Linked DNA regions of Homo sapiens: region 2 is linked to region 1. The links are contacts of gene promoters, found by promoter capture Hi-C in blood cells and fetal thymus (Javierre and others, 2016). All regions are on one chromosome and are shown on one strand. The core of a region is centred on a gene start or on the middle of the fragment in contact, and the rest is flanking DNA. Distances in the headings are between cores, read along the strand shown. Region 1 holds the start of NFS1 (NFS1 cysteine desulfurase). Region 2 has its middle 20 kb from the start of SPAG4.

Region 1 (6,409 bases), core at 2,338-4,837:
GGTACGGTGGCTCACACCTGTAATCCCAGCACTTTGGGAGGTCGAGATGGGAGGATCATCAGGTCAAGAGATTGAGATCATCCTGGCCAATATGGTGAAACCCCATCTCTACTAAAAATATAAAAATTAGTTGGGCATGGTGGCGGGCACCTGTACTCCCAGCTACTCTGGAGGCTGAGGCAGGAGAATCACTTGAACCTGGGAGGTGGAGTTTGCAGTGAGCTGAGATTGCGCCACTGCACTCCAGCCTGGCGACAGAGTGAGACTATGTATCAAAAAAAAAAAGAAGAATGGAGAAAAGGTTCAATCACCATTATCCACTCTCTGAAGTAACTGCCAGACAAAAAAAAAACAAGTGGTTAATGGCCTGAGGGCCACCTCCTTTGCTATCCAACTGCCTCACTCAACTCAGACCAACAGCAGCAAAGACTTAAGAAAGAGTAGACTGCAAAGGGTTAAAGGAAGCAACAAATCAGAAAGACTGCAAGCCTTCTCTTCACAATGGGGTGGGGATGGATGGCTGCGAAATACATATACGAGTCCAAATGATGGAGGGACACTATCTCCTAGGTCAGGAAAGCCCACATACACCCTCTGGTTCCCTTCTCTTACCTTAATTGCTATGTTGTTGGATTCAGTAGCACCACTAGTAAAAATGATCTCACGAGGATCAGCTCCAATCAGAGATGCTACTTGCTGCAAGCCAAGAAACAGAGATATATAACATCAGTTCCCCAGGCAGAAATAGAGCTGCAGACACAGGTGGGACAGCCCTGGAGCAAGAAGAGCTCCACTGCATTCCACCAAATTGCCCTGGATGAAGGTCTGCACCTACAAGAATCAGATTCTAGTTATATCCCAGATCCCAGGCTCTTTTCCAGCCCAATGCAAAATAATAACTTTTTTTTTTTAATGAACTATTGGCCAGGTGTGGTGGGTCACTCCTGTAACCCCAGCACTTTGGGAGGCCGAGGTGGAAAGATCACCTGAGGTCAGGAGTTCGAGACCAACCTGGCCAACATGGTGAAACTCCATTTCTACTAAGAATACAAAAATATTAGGCCGGGCATGGTGGCTCAAGCCTGTAATCCCAGCACTTTGGGAGGCTGAGGCAGGTGGATCACCTGAGGTCGGGAATTCAAGACCAGCCTGACCAACATGGAGAAACCCCGTCTCTACTAAAAATACAAATTTACCCGGGTGTGGTGGCGCATGCCTGTAATCCCAGCTACTTGGGAGGCTGAGGTAGGAGAACTGCTTGAACCCGGGAGGCAGAGGTTGCAGTGAGCCGAGATCGTGCCACTGCACTGCAGCCTGGGTAACAAGAGCAAAACTCTGTCTCAAATAATAGTAAATAAATAAATAAATAAAAATACAAAAATATTAGCTAGGCATGGTGGCGTGTGCCTGTAATCCCAATTACTTGGGAGGCTGAGGCAGCAGAATCACTTGAACCCGGGAGGCAGAGGTTGCAGTGAGCCAAGATCGTGCGCCACTGCACTCCAGTCTGGGCAACAAATGTGAAAACTCCATCTCATAAAAAAAAAAAAAAAGAACTATTGAGCTCTTACTATTTATAGTACTTCTTACTTACAGATGTTGTGGTAATAAACACTTTATCAGCATTGTCTTATTTAATCCACCCAGTAACCCTACAGAGTAGAAACTACCACAATCTCTGTTTTAAATGAGGAAAATAAGGCTCAAAGAAATTAGATAACTTGCCCAAGTCATTTAGCCAGGAAATATGGGAACCAATCAAATGCCTGCAGTCAAACTCCAAGGCTGCTCTTTGAATCTCTTCCAGAAAGAATCCAAAACCATTTCTACCTCCATGCACACCTACCAAGAAAGAAATGCCTCCCACAGGCCACTGCCCCTCTTTGACCTTAGAACCTCCTAGACTCCTGTGTACTAACCTGACGAGCACGTTCCATGGCTGCCTCACTCTCCCAGCCATAAGCATGTGTCCGGGAGTGTGGGTTCCCATAGTAGTTGATTAGGTAAGGGAGCATGGCATCAAGCACCCGGGGGTCCTGAACACAACAGAACAGATCATTTTCCTTGAGCGCATCGTCAATTCAGGTCCCACTCCACCCCTCAGACCTGGCCACCCTGCCTTAAGACACTCTCAACCCCTCAGGCACTGCCTAGAGGAGGCCTCAAACATTCTTTTGTTCCCACAAAACTACCCACCAAATATCAACCTAATACACTCCCACTCACAACCCATCCCAACTCGGATTGTTCTGCCTCCCCTCAGGTAGTCTACAAACACTGCCTTGTTCCGACATCTGTTTCTGCTGGTGTTTCCATTCCTGCCAGGTAATGTGATCTATAAGGGGCTGGGACAGGACAGGGCCTAGGCAAACACCCCTGGTCACACATTGGTGAAAACTTGCATTAGTCTTTTAACCCGTTTAATACTTGTCCAAGTTCACACAGTTACTAAGTGGCCGTTCTGCTCATTCCAGAGCCCATGCTTTTAACTAATACTATAGAGCCTGCGCTGAAGTGATCTGACCAAGGTCAATTGCTAGTGAGTAGTAAAGCCAATGCCAGTGGCCTCGAATTTAAGCCTCCCGACTCCTCGCTCAGTGCTTTTTCCAGCACACCTTCACGGCTCTCACTTCTCCAGGGATTCAGCCATTTCTTTGCGTGATCACGCCCATCATTTACTTCCTATAAGCAGCCTTGGGAAAAGCTTCATCCTTACCAGAGGAGTTGTAGCTTGCACATCCATATAGAGAGGTCGCAGCACTGGCCCCACCTCCGGGGCAGCGGCTGTATCTGCGGGAACCGCAGACTGAGGAGCACGGTCTCCAACTGATAAAAAATGGAACGGAGTAGCCAAGTAAGACCGAAGGCAACTATGAACGCATGGCATCCAAAGGGCAGAAGGAAAAATCTGGCTGGAGGTGAGATAAGTGTAAGGGATGCTAGGGTCGAATCTCAATGGAAAGAAAACAACACCAGATACCTGACACGCTGTAAAAGGAGGTAAGGGAGAGGGAGAGAGGGTTCCTGGAGGGGGTGTTGAGTTGATATTCAAATGGTATCGTAGGAAGGAAGGCTCTAAAGGGCAAAGACGTTTAGAAGGAACGTGGAGCCAGAGTAGGTGCAGTCCCTTCTGACCGAAGGTAACGGTCTGCACGGGAGCCCGGAGCAGCATCTGTAACTTGGCCAGGAGCGGTCTGAAGGACGCGCCTCCACGGCTCTGGGGGCCTGTCGCGCAGGGTGCGAGGGGTGGTGCGCCGGGGTCAACCGTTCGGGGACCCGCCTAAGAAAGTTTGAGGGATGTGTCATTTGAGAGAAGGGTCAGAGGGTCTGGGCAGCAGGGTGGACAGGAAGGCTCCGGAATATTCAGTTGCGTCGCCGCGCGGAGGGGACAGGTCCGCGCCTCCCGGAGAGCGGGACCCGAGCGTACCGCGCAGGCGCAGCCCCCGAGTGGGCGCCGCGGGCTTCGGCCCTGGAGCCGCTGTCACCGCCACTGCCGCCCGCCTCCAAGCGGCTCGGAGCAGCATGGTCCCGCTGGCAGAGCCCACCTTCCGAAGCCGCTGCAGTCCTGGGCCCCAGGCTCCCGGAAGTGCTGCCCGGCGCTCCGGAAGCGATTCATCGGGCCGCGAGCGCCCTCCCCGTCGTTTTCCGTGAGAGACGTAGAGCTGAGCGACCCAGCCCGCGAGCGAGGTGAGGTAGGCGCCGGGCGACGCGGGGCCGGAACGCGAAGAGGGTGGTGGAGTCGGGCTACCCACTGATTTTCCTTCCCTTACTTCCCCTGAGCCCTTGGGCCCACTTCCCAGCCTACCGCTTCCGTCCCCGCCCGACTCTTGGGCCAGCGCCTGGGCCCACACTTTCCTATCCCCCGCAGATGCCGGTGGCCGTGGGTCCCTACGGACAGTCCCAGCCAAGCTGCTTCGACCGTGTCAAAATGGGCTTCGTGATGGGTTGCGCCGTGGGCATGGCGGCCGGGGCGCTCTTCGGCACCTTTTCCTGTCTCAGGTGAGGGGCGCGGGCGGTGATCTCTGGGCAGGACAACCAGACCTTCCGGCCCTGCCCCATTCGGCCTGGAGCCTGAACACAGCCTCCTTCTTTCGACTTCCCTCTCTGTCCCCTCGCGAGCCAGACTCATTCCAAACCACCTTCAATCTGTAAAGTCAGGTTGGAAGCGTCAGTGCTTAAGAATTTGAGCTTTAGAGTCAAAATGCTTTCTGGCCCTTTTCTTACTGGTTCGGTGACTTTAGGCAAGTTGGAGACTGGGTTTCCTTAAGTGTAGAATGAAGACAGTAGCATCTAACTTATAGAGTTGTAAAAATTCGATCAGCACACTTTGCACAGCATCTGGCACATATTAAGTGCTCAGTAACTAGTTACTACTGTTGCTTTTATTTTTTTTTCCAATTGCGCATAAGGAAAGAAACTCGTTCAGCGGTTTTACTATTCTGGATACAGGATACAGAGATAAAGCAGTTAAACTTTACACTCTAAAGGTCATTTTCACATTTAGAGGCTGTTATTGCCATATCCCTAGATTGTAAATTATCATTTACAGAGCACTTACTCTATGTTAAGCACTGTGCTAAATACTGTAGTTTTCAAAATCCTGTAAATAATGTTGAGATGCCCATTTTACACTTGACACTATGTGTAAATTGTAGAGCTGACTCTTGAACCCCCACCTTACTCCAAAATCATTAACACCAAGAAACTAAAAGACAGATGTCTTTATTGGGTCTTAAACTGCAGGCAACACCAGTCAAAAAAGCTGGTTTCTCTATGTATTTTACACTGCATCTGCTGCCTCCCACAAACTGAAGGCAGTTAATACGACATCCACCAGAAAAATACCCTGGAGACCCAGATGGATCTTTTTCCTTCTCATTACCCACCCCAGGTAGTAAGATATAATATCCAGTAAGTGGAAAATCAGATGTAGGGGTTGCTAGACTAGTGTTAGCAAAAAATTGGAAAGGAGCAGTTAATACTCTTTCTGATATTTTTGTTACCAAATAGCTCCATCTTGGTTTCCTCCTCAGGATCGGAATGCGGGGTCGAGAGCTGATGGGCGGCATTGGGAAAACCATGATGCAGAGTGGCGGCACCTTTGGCACATTCATGGCCATTGGGATGGGCATCCGATGCTAACCATGGTTGCCAACTACATCTGTCCCTTCCCATCAATCCCAGCCCATGTACTAATAAAAGAAAGTCTTTGAGTAGTCAGTGTCCCTCTCTTAAAGGAATATTCTTCTCTCAGCCTATTATCCAGCTTTGCCAAGGATCTTCTGCACTAAAGAGATGGACTAACGTAATGACTAGGGTTAGTATCTCTTTCACAAGGCCTGCCTCTCTTAATCCAAAATTGGAAAACTTGGGAGTGTCTAGTATTTTCCATAGATACTATTCAACTAATTACTCAGTACAACTCTGTGCTTGTTACTACGGTCACCATTTTAAAGGAGAAAAACTACTTCAAAAAATGGATTTATAAGCCGAAATTTCCTCAAGGTCACACATTGCATTATTTCCAAAGCAATGTTCATCCTGAGGTTGGTTGTTTCCTTGGTCGCCCAGGTTGGAGTGCAGTGGCACGATCTCGGCTTACCGCAACTTCTGCCTCCTGTGTTCAAGCGTTTCTCCTGCCTCAGCCTCCCGAGTAGCTGTGATAACAGGCACGTGCCACCATGCCTAGCTAAATTTTGTATTGTTAGGCTGGGCGCGGTGGCTTATGCCTGTAATCCCAGCACTTTGGGAGGCAAAGGCTGGTGGATCACAAGGTCAGGAGATGGAGACCATCTTGGGTAACACGGTGACACCCCGTCTCTACTAAAAATACAAAAACTTAAGCCGGGTGTGTTGACACGCGCCTGTATTCCCAGCTACTCGGGAGGCTGAGGCAGGAGAATCGCTTGAACCCAGAAGGTGGAGGTTGCAGTGAGCTGAGATCGAGCCATTGCACTCCAGCCTGGGCGACAGAGCGAGACTCTGTCTCAAAACAAAAAAAATTTGTATTCTTAGTAGAGACGGGGTTTCACTGTGTTGGCCAGGCTGGTCTCAAACTCTTGACCTCATGATCCACCCGCCTCCGCCTCCCAGTGTTCACATATACAGGCATAAGGCACCACGTCCAGCCCGAGGTTGTTATTTAGATATACCTAGTGGCTTTATCAGAAAAAGCAAAACAGTTCATCCACTGTAAAAAAAAATAGAAACTTCTGTAGCTTCTCAACTGGCTAAATTCCAGATGATTTTCTAACCACTCATCAACAATCTATATAGCTTGCCCTCCACAAAACTTACTAGTTTGATGATAAAAAGCTTCTGTAATGAGGCAGTTGTCCATCTCACCTGCCCAGGCCACGCAGACCCTGGAGTTACTAACCCGCATTGCCCATTAAGCATTTCTTAAACA
Region 2 (6,409 bases), core at 2,570-5,069, 100 kb before region 1:
AATCTTGCCAGTTCTCAGTTCTAAGCCTGGATGAAAGGACAATCGTGATCCTTCAAAAAAACATTTGAAGCCCAAAGTGAACTGAACCAAACCAAATTCACAACTAAGCCCATTTCAAATACAAAGCATAATGACTTGGTCCTCACTCTCTAGAGTAAGGCCTAGTGTAAGAAGAGAAATGCCATTTCCTGGACATATATATTATTTTAGTCACTAATGTTTTATACAAATATCCAGGCATATGATAAAAAAAATTACAGGACGGAGTTAAAGCAAAACTCATGGTCAAGAGGAAATAATCAATAGAAGTAGATGCATAGATAACCCAGATGTTGGAATTATTAGATAAGCATATTAAAATAACTGTGATAGAAATCTAAATGATCTAGTGAGGAAAGTACACAAGAATTAAAAGATGGGTGATTTCAGCAAACAGTTGAAAACTGGAACCAAAAGGAAATAATAGAAATTTTAAATATATCAGGCAAACAGTTCTACAATAGTTGGAGTCTTCAGTACACCACTTACAATAGCAGATGGAACATCTATACAGAATATTATTAAGGAAATAGACTTAAAACAACACTAACCAACTATACCTAGAAGACACATACAAAATACTCCATCATAACAGCAGAGTACACATTCTTCTCAAGCACTCACGGAACATTCTTCAGGATACATCATATGTTAGATCACAAAACAGTAAATTTAAAAAGACTAGGCTGGCCGGGCATGGTGGCTTACACCTGTAATCAGGCAGAGATTGCAGTGAGCCAAGATTGTGCCACTGCACTCCAGCCTGGTGACAGAGAGAGACTGCGTCTCAAAAAAATAAAAAAAATAAAATAAAAAATAAAAAAAGACACAAATACCTAAAATCAGAAATGAAAGGAAGGACATTACTAGCAACCTTATGGAAATAAAAAGATTGTAAGAGAATACCATGAACAAGTATAAAATAACAAATTGGATTATCTAAGATGAAGTTATAAAATTCCTGGAAATACAAATTATCTAAACTGACTCAAGAAGAAATAGAAAATCTGAACAAATCTATAACAATTAAAGAGATTGACTCAGCAGTCAAAAACTTCCCAAAAAAAGTCAAGACCAGATGCCTTCACTGGTGAATTCTACCAAACACTTGAAGAAGAATTAACGCCAATCCTTTTCAAACTCTTCCAAAAAATAGAAGAGGGAGGAACACTTCGTAACTCATTCTATGAGGCCAGCTTTACCTTGATATCAAAGATAGATAAATCACAAGAAAAGACATCAAATCATTACATGCCGGGCGTGGTGACTTAGGCCTGTAATCCCAGCGTTTTGGGAGGCCGAGGCATGGAGGATCCCTTGAGCCCCAGGAGTTCACGACCAGCCTGGGTAACACAGGAAGACCCCATCTCTACTTTTTAAGTACTTTTTTTTTAAATCAAAAAAGAAAAAAGAAAATTACAAAACAATATCCCTTATAAATACACAGATGCAAAAGTCCTGAAGAAAATCCAATGACGTATTTAAAAAATGGATATACACCATTGATAAAAGGAATTCATCTCATGAATGCAAGGATAGTACAACCTAAGGAAATCAATCAGTGTAATACATCACAGTAACAGAACAAAAAAGAAAAAAACATGATCATCTTAATAGACACAGAAAAAAAGTTCGATAAAATCTAACACCCTTTCACAATAAAAACGCAAAACTAGGAATGGAAGAGAACTTCCTCAACCTGATAAAGGGCATTTATGAAAAACACTGCTAACATCAAACTTAATAAATAATGAAAGCTTTCCCCCTAGAATCAGAAACAAAGCAAGTGAAAATTACAACTTTGGCTAGTTGTGGTGGCTCACACCTGTAATCCCAGCACTTTGGGATGCTGAGGCAGGAGAATCACTTGAACCCAGGAGGCAGAATAAAATTACAATTTCAGAAAAAGTATGTGTCTTGTATCTGCCATTGTGAGCTTGACAGCTTGCCAACACTCGAAGATTTTTGTGACTGGACATGGCAGCTCACACCTGTAATCCCAACACTTTGGAAGGCCAAGGCAGGAGGACTGCTTGAGCTCAGGAGTTTGAGACCAGCCTGGTCAACACAGCAAGACCCCATCTCCATTTTTTTTTTTTTTTTTTTTTTTGAGATAGAGTCTCTGTCACCCAGGCTGGAGTGCAGTGGTGTAATCTGAGACCTGTCCCGAGACCAAAAAGTTTGAGAACCACTGCCATAGAAAAGCACCAGGACATGTACCAAAATGGTCTCGGAAGCATTGTTTCTAATCACAACCCATTGGGAACATCTCACATACCCATCAGCAGCACAATATGTTATATATATATATATATATATATATATATATATGTATGTATATATTTAGTGCTTCAGACAAGGGAGGTCATGCTCAAGGCAGCCTACTCTCAAATCTTCATCCAAAGAAATCCTGAATGTTCCCTGGGTCTCTGCTGGATTCTAGAACTCTTGTCCTCACCCTTAGCTACTGCAAATGAATCTTGGTCCTATGCCCACAGCAATTAGTCCCAGCCCTGGCATCATTCCAAAGGAAAAATGTTAAATCACACCTGCCCGAGGCCTCTGGAATGGTTCAAAAGCTTAGGGAAAAGGGTGTACAGGGTAGGAAAGTGGGGTGAGTGAGGCATTACCTCCTCAGCCAGAAAGCGCAGTTTTGCCAGGAGCTTCTTGGCCAGTGCCACCTTCTTTTGCACATTGCGCCGTCTCAGGCCGCGTAGAAGTCGCAGTCCTTGCTTAGCCAAAAGGTTCTGGGAGGGCAAAAAGACAGCATGAGCGGAAGGCCCCAGCTAGGCGCCCCTGAGTCCCTTCCCGAGGCCGTACCAGGCTGTGCACCAGGAGTTTCCCTCGGCATCGATCCAGGGCATTGGGCCGGGTCATCGTCCTGCGCTCGGCACCGTGGCAAAACTGTCTGCAGTGAGCAGGGATGTGCACAGCAGACAGGAATCAAAGGAAAGGAGAAGGACAGTGACCTTGGGGCCACTTGCTCTGAGCTGACCTCCCACCCCCAGCCTCCCTCATAGCCCTCTCAGTCTTGGGCTCTGAAGAGGCACCCTTTCTCCTGCAAAGCTGGCCTATCTCTATTTGGACCACTCCCAAAAATCATTAAGGCCAGCCTTGCTCTTGAGCTCCAGAGCTCGCTAATACTTAACCACCTACTACCCTGGCTACCCCAGGTGTGGCCCATGGACCAACAGCACTGGTATCACCTGCAGGCTATTTAAAACTGTAGGACCTCAGCCCCACCCCAGGCCCTGCTGAATCAGAAGCTGCGTTTATGCCCTCGGGGATTCCTAAGCACATTGAAGCCTCAGACGTCTCCACCAGCTTGGCTAACGTATAGCTTGAACATTACATGCCCAAGCCAAATGCATACTTTCCAATGATCCCCCCCGCAAAACAAAACAAAACAAAACAAAAACCCTATTTCACCTCAGAACTTTCGAGTCATCTCTCACTGCTCTTTCTCTCTTATTCCACATCAATTCATCAGCAAATTCTTTATGCTCTACCTTCAAAAAATATCCAGAATCTGGCCAGGTGTGGTGGCTCAGGCCTGTAATCCCCGCACTTTGGGAGGCCGAGGCGGTGAATCACTTGAGGTCAGGAGTTCGAGACCAGCCTGGCCAAAATGGTGAAACAACTGTGTCTACTGACGCTGAAAGGTTGAGCATGGTGAGAACAGAAAAGTGACCACCTACAGCCTCCTACCTCACTGCCTCTCCTGATCAGGGTCCTTGGCTGAGTCCCTGCTTCCTCCCTGCCTCTAAATGCTGGAACGCTCCAGGTTCTCAGATTTCTCTTTTCTGTGCTCTGTTAATGCTGTTATCCAGCTCCATCTACATAATGATAGTTCCCAAATTGACATTTCCAGCCTAGAATTCTCCCCAGAACTCAACTCATATAGCTAACTGCCTACCACACATGTCCACTTACAATTCAATAAGAATTTCACAGTTAACATGTCCAAAACTGAGCTCCTACTATCTGCCTTCCCTCAGATCCCACCTCATCCCTGCTTCCATCAGACCTTCTCCTTTGTTTTCTGTTGAAAACAGATTTTTTTCTTTTTTCCAAAAAAAGAAGATTTTGGCTTGCATAACTATGCAGTTGGTGCAGCCTTAAACTCCTGGACTCAAGCCATCCTCCCATCTCAGCCTCCTGAGTAGCTGGGACTACAGGTGTGCACCACCACACCCAGCTAACTTTTGTATTTTTCATAGAGACAAGGTCTTCCTATATTGTTCAGGTTGGTTTCAAACCCCTGGGCTCAATTGATCCTCCCACCTTGGCCTCCCAAAGTGCTGGGATTCCAGGTGTGAGCCACCATGCCCAGCCCACAAGCCAAAATCTTAGCAAGTCCTGAGGTATCACCCCCAATTCCAAATTTTCTCTGGAATCCATTCACAGCACTCCATCTCCACTGCAACCATCCCCTAGATCAGTTCATCGCCACCTGTCACGTGGATTATCACAATAGCCCCTTTACTAATCTCCCTGCTTCCTCCCCCACTGATCCCTTTTAAGGATCTATGTGTTAGAGTGTATCTTTTTCCTTTTCAAAACATTCACTGCCCCTCCCCCCCCATTTCACTCAGAGAAGAAGCCAAAGTCATTAAAATGGCTTGTGAGGCTCCCACAGGATCTGTCCCTCCCCACCATCATCCTCCTTCCCCTGGCCTCCTCCAGCCTCTTCTACTATGTCACACTGCTGCAGTCACACTGGTTCTGTGCTCCTCCTCAAACACTCCAGGCATGCTGTCCCCTCCACCTGGAACACCATTACAGGCAGGCTTTCTCCTCCAGCTTCATGTCACCTTCACGGTGGCCTCCCCTCCACACCCTTTCTGAAATTGCAGTACCTCTTTCTAATGCTTCCTTGCTTCGCGTTCTTTCTTAACACTTATCCTACTTAGTATTTTTCTATCTGTTTACATGCTTATTTCACATGTCTCCACCCTTCCCCAACCTCTACACCCAAATGTAAGCTTCAGGGTTTTTTTTTAAAGTCAGGGTCCCATTCTGTCACCCAGACTGGAGTGCAGTGGCGCAATCATGGTTCACTGCAGCCTTGAACTCCTGGGCTCAAGATCTTCCCACTTCAGCCTCCCACAAGTAGCTGGGACTACAGGCATCAGCCATTGTGCCTGGCCAACTTCAGGGATTTTTGTGGGCAGGAATGCTTTTTCACTGATATTCCTGTGCCTAAAACAGTGTCTGGCATAGTAAGTGCCATAAATAGTTATCAAATAAAGAACCCTTTTGAGAAGAGGATCTGAAAATCACTTAAGTACCTGGAGCAGGTAATGGAATTCAGGGCAGTAGTGAAGGTCAAAGATGGAAGTAACTAGAACATGTTTTTTTTTTGTTTTCTTGTTTGTTTGTTTTTGAGACGTAGTCTTGCTCAGTCACCCAGGCTGGAGTGCAGTGGCGCAATCTTGGCTCACTGCAACCTCCACCTGCCAGGTTCAAGTGACTCTCCTGCCTCAGCCTCCCAAGTAGCTGGGAGGTACCCACCATTATGCCCGGCTAATTTTTGTATTTTTTTGGTAGAGACTGGGTTTCGCCATGTTGGCCAGTCTGGTCTTGAACTCCTGACCTCAAATGATCTGCCCGCCTCAGACTCCAAAAGTGCTGGGATTACGGGTGTGAGCCACCGCACCTGGCCGAACATGTTTATGTGGTTACAGCAATGACCTGGTAACTAGGGACCAATCAATGATGAAGGGGAGAAAATTGACAATTACAGAACTAATTCCTCCAGTGATGAAATCCAGATCACAGCTGTGGTCACTGGAGCAGGAAAGGAGGAGAGCAGATGGATGCAGAAGCCGGCAAGGAGGTAGACTGGGTGTGGGAAGGTGATTAGCAGGAACAAGTGTGAAAGAAAGGAGGCGAGGTTTGAAGAGACACGGGATAAGCCTCTAGGAGCGTGGGAAAGGGAACTCATGGAGATGGAAAACAGCTGAGGTGCCAGAGAATCAGGGGAAGCCTAACCCCCAATAATCTCATCAGCTCCCTGGATAGGAATAATTGTCTTCTCATTTTTCTGTAAGGTGCTGAGCAAATGCAGCTGCAAGCTGCCCTTGGGTCCAGACAGCCACCGAGAGTCTCCCTTGCCCTGGAGTTGGCCCAAGTACAGGCAGCAGTAGGAGTGGCTCTCAGCTCACCTGCTCCCAGCCACCAGTACTTCCAGTGCCTGCTTGAGCTGTGCACAGGCGCCAGGCCCCGGCTTGCGCTGCAGTCTCTCAACCTCCTGCAGCCCCTGGTCCTGTGCAACGTGGGAGAGGGTCAGAGTCTTGAGGGTCCCTGACTCAGACCTCTTGTAGACCACACCCCCACCCAAGGCCCCACCCACTCACGACCACACCTC

The links. Contacts are between HindIII fragments. The CHiCAGO score rates a contact against its expected background, and 5 or more counts as called.
Region 2: a fragment that was not itself captured here is called in contact with the fragment with the promoter of NFS1 in region 1 in 6 of 17 cell types (activated CD4 T cells, naive CD8 T cells, total CD8 T cells and 3 more); the score reaches 9.1 in activated CD4 T cells.

The regions. Positions count from the first base shown.
Region 1 is chr20:35,695,765-35,702,173 of GRCh38, forward strand. It overlaps NFS1 (NFS1 cysteine desulfurase), which reads right to left and starts at 3,588. Exons shown (of 13, transcript NM_021100.5): 1 at 3,428-3,588; 2 at 2,717-2,826; 3 at 1,920-2,036; 4 at 613-696. The coding sequence starts at 3,524. ROMO1 (reactive oxygen species modulator 1) reads left to right here and starts at 3,641. Exons shown (of 3, transcript NM_080748.3): 1 at 3,641-3,692; 2 at 3,869-3,999; 3 at 5,034-5,216. The coding sequence starts at 3,869. The coding sequence ends at 5,142. RBM39 (RNA binding motif protein 39) reads right to left here. Exons shown (of 17, transcript NM_184234.3): 17 at 5,583-6,409. RefSeq lists enhancers at 3,155-3,814, 3,815-4,474, 4,046-4,265 and a silencer at 3,366-3,555. The HindIII fragment of the contact is 3,611 bases long and covers 2,703-6,313 here.
Region 2 is chr20:35,592,808-35,599,216 of GRCh38, forward strand. It overlaps the pseudogene FER1L4. Among named protein-coding and RNA genes, the nearest start is that of SPAG4, 20 kb to the right of the region's middle. RefSeq lists an enhancer at 6,345-6,409. The HindIII fragment of the contact is 2,406 bases long and covers 2,617-5,022 here.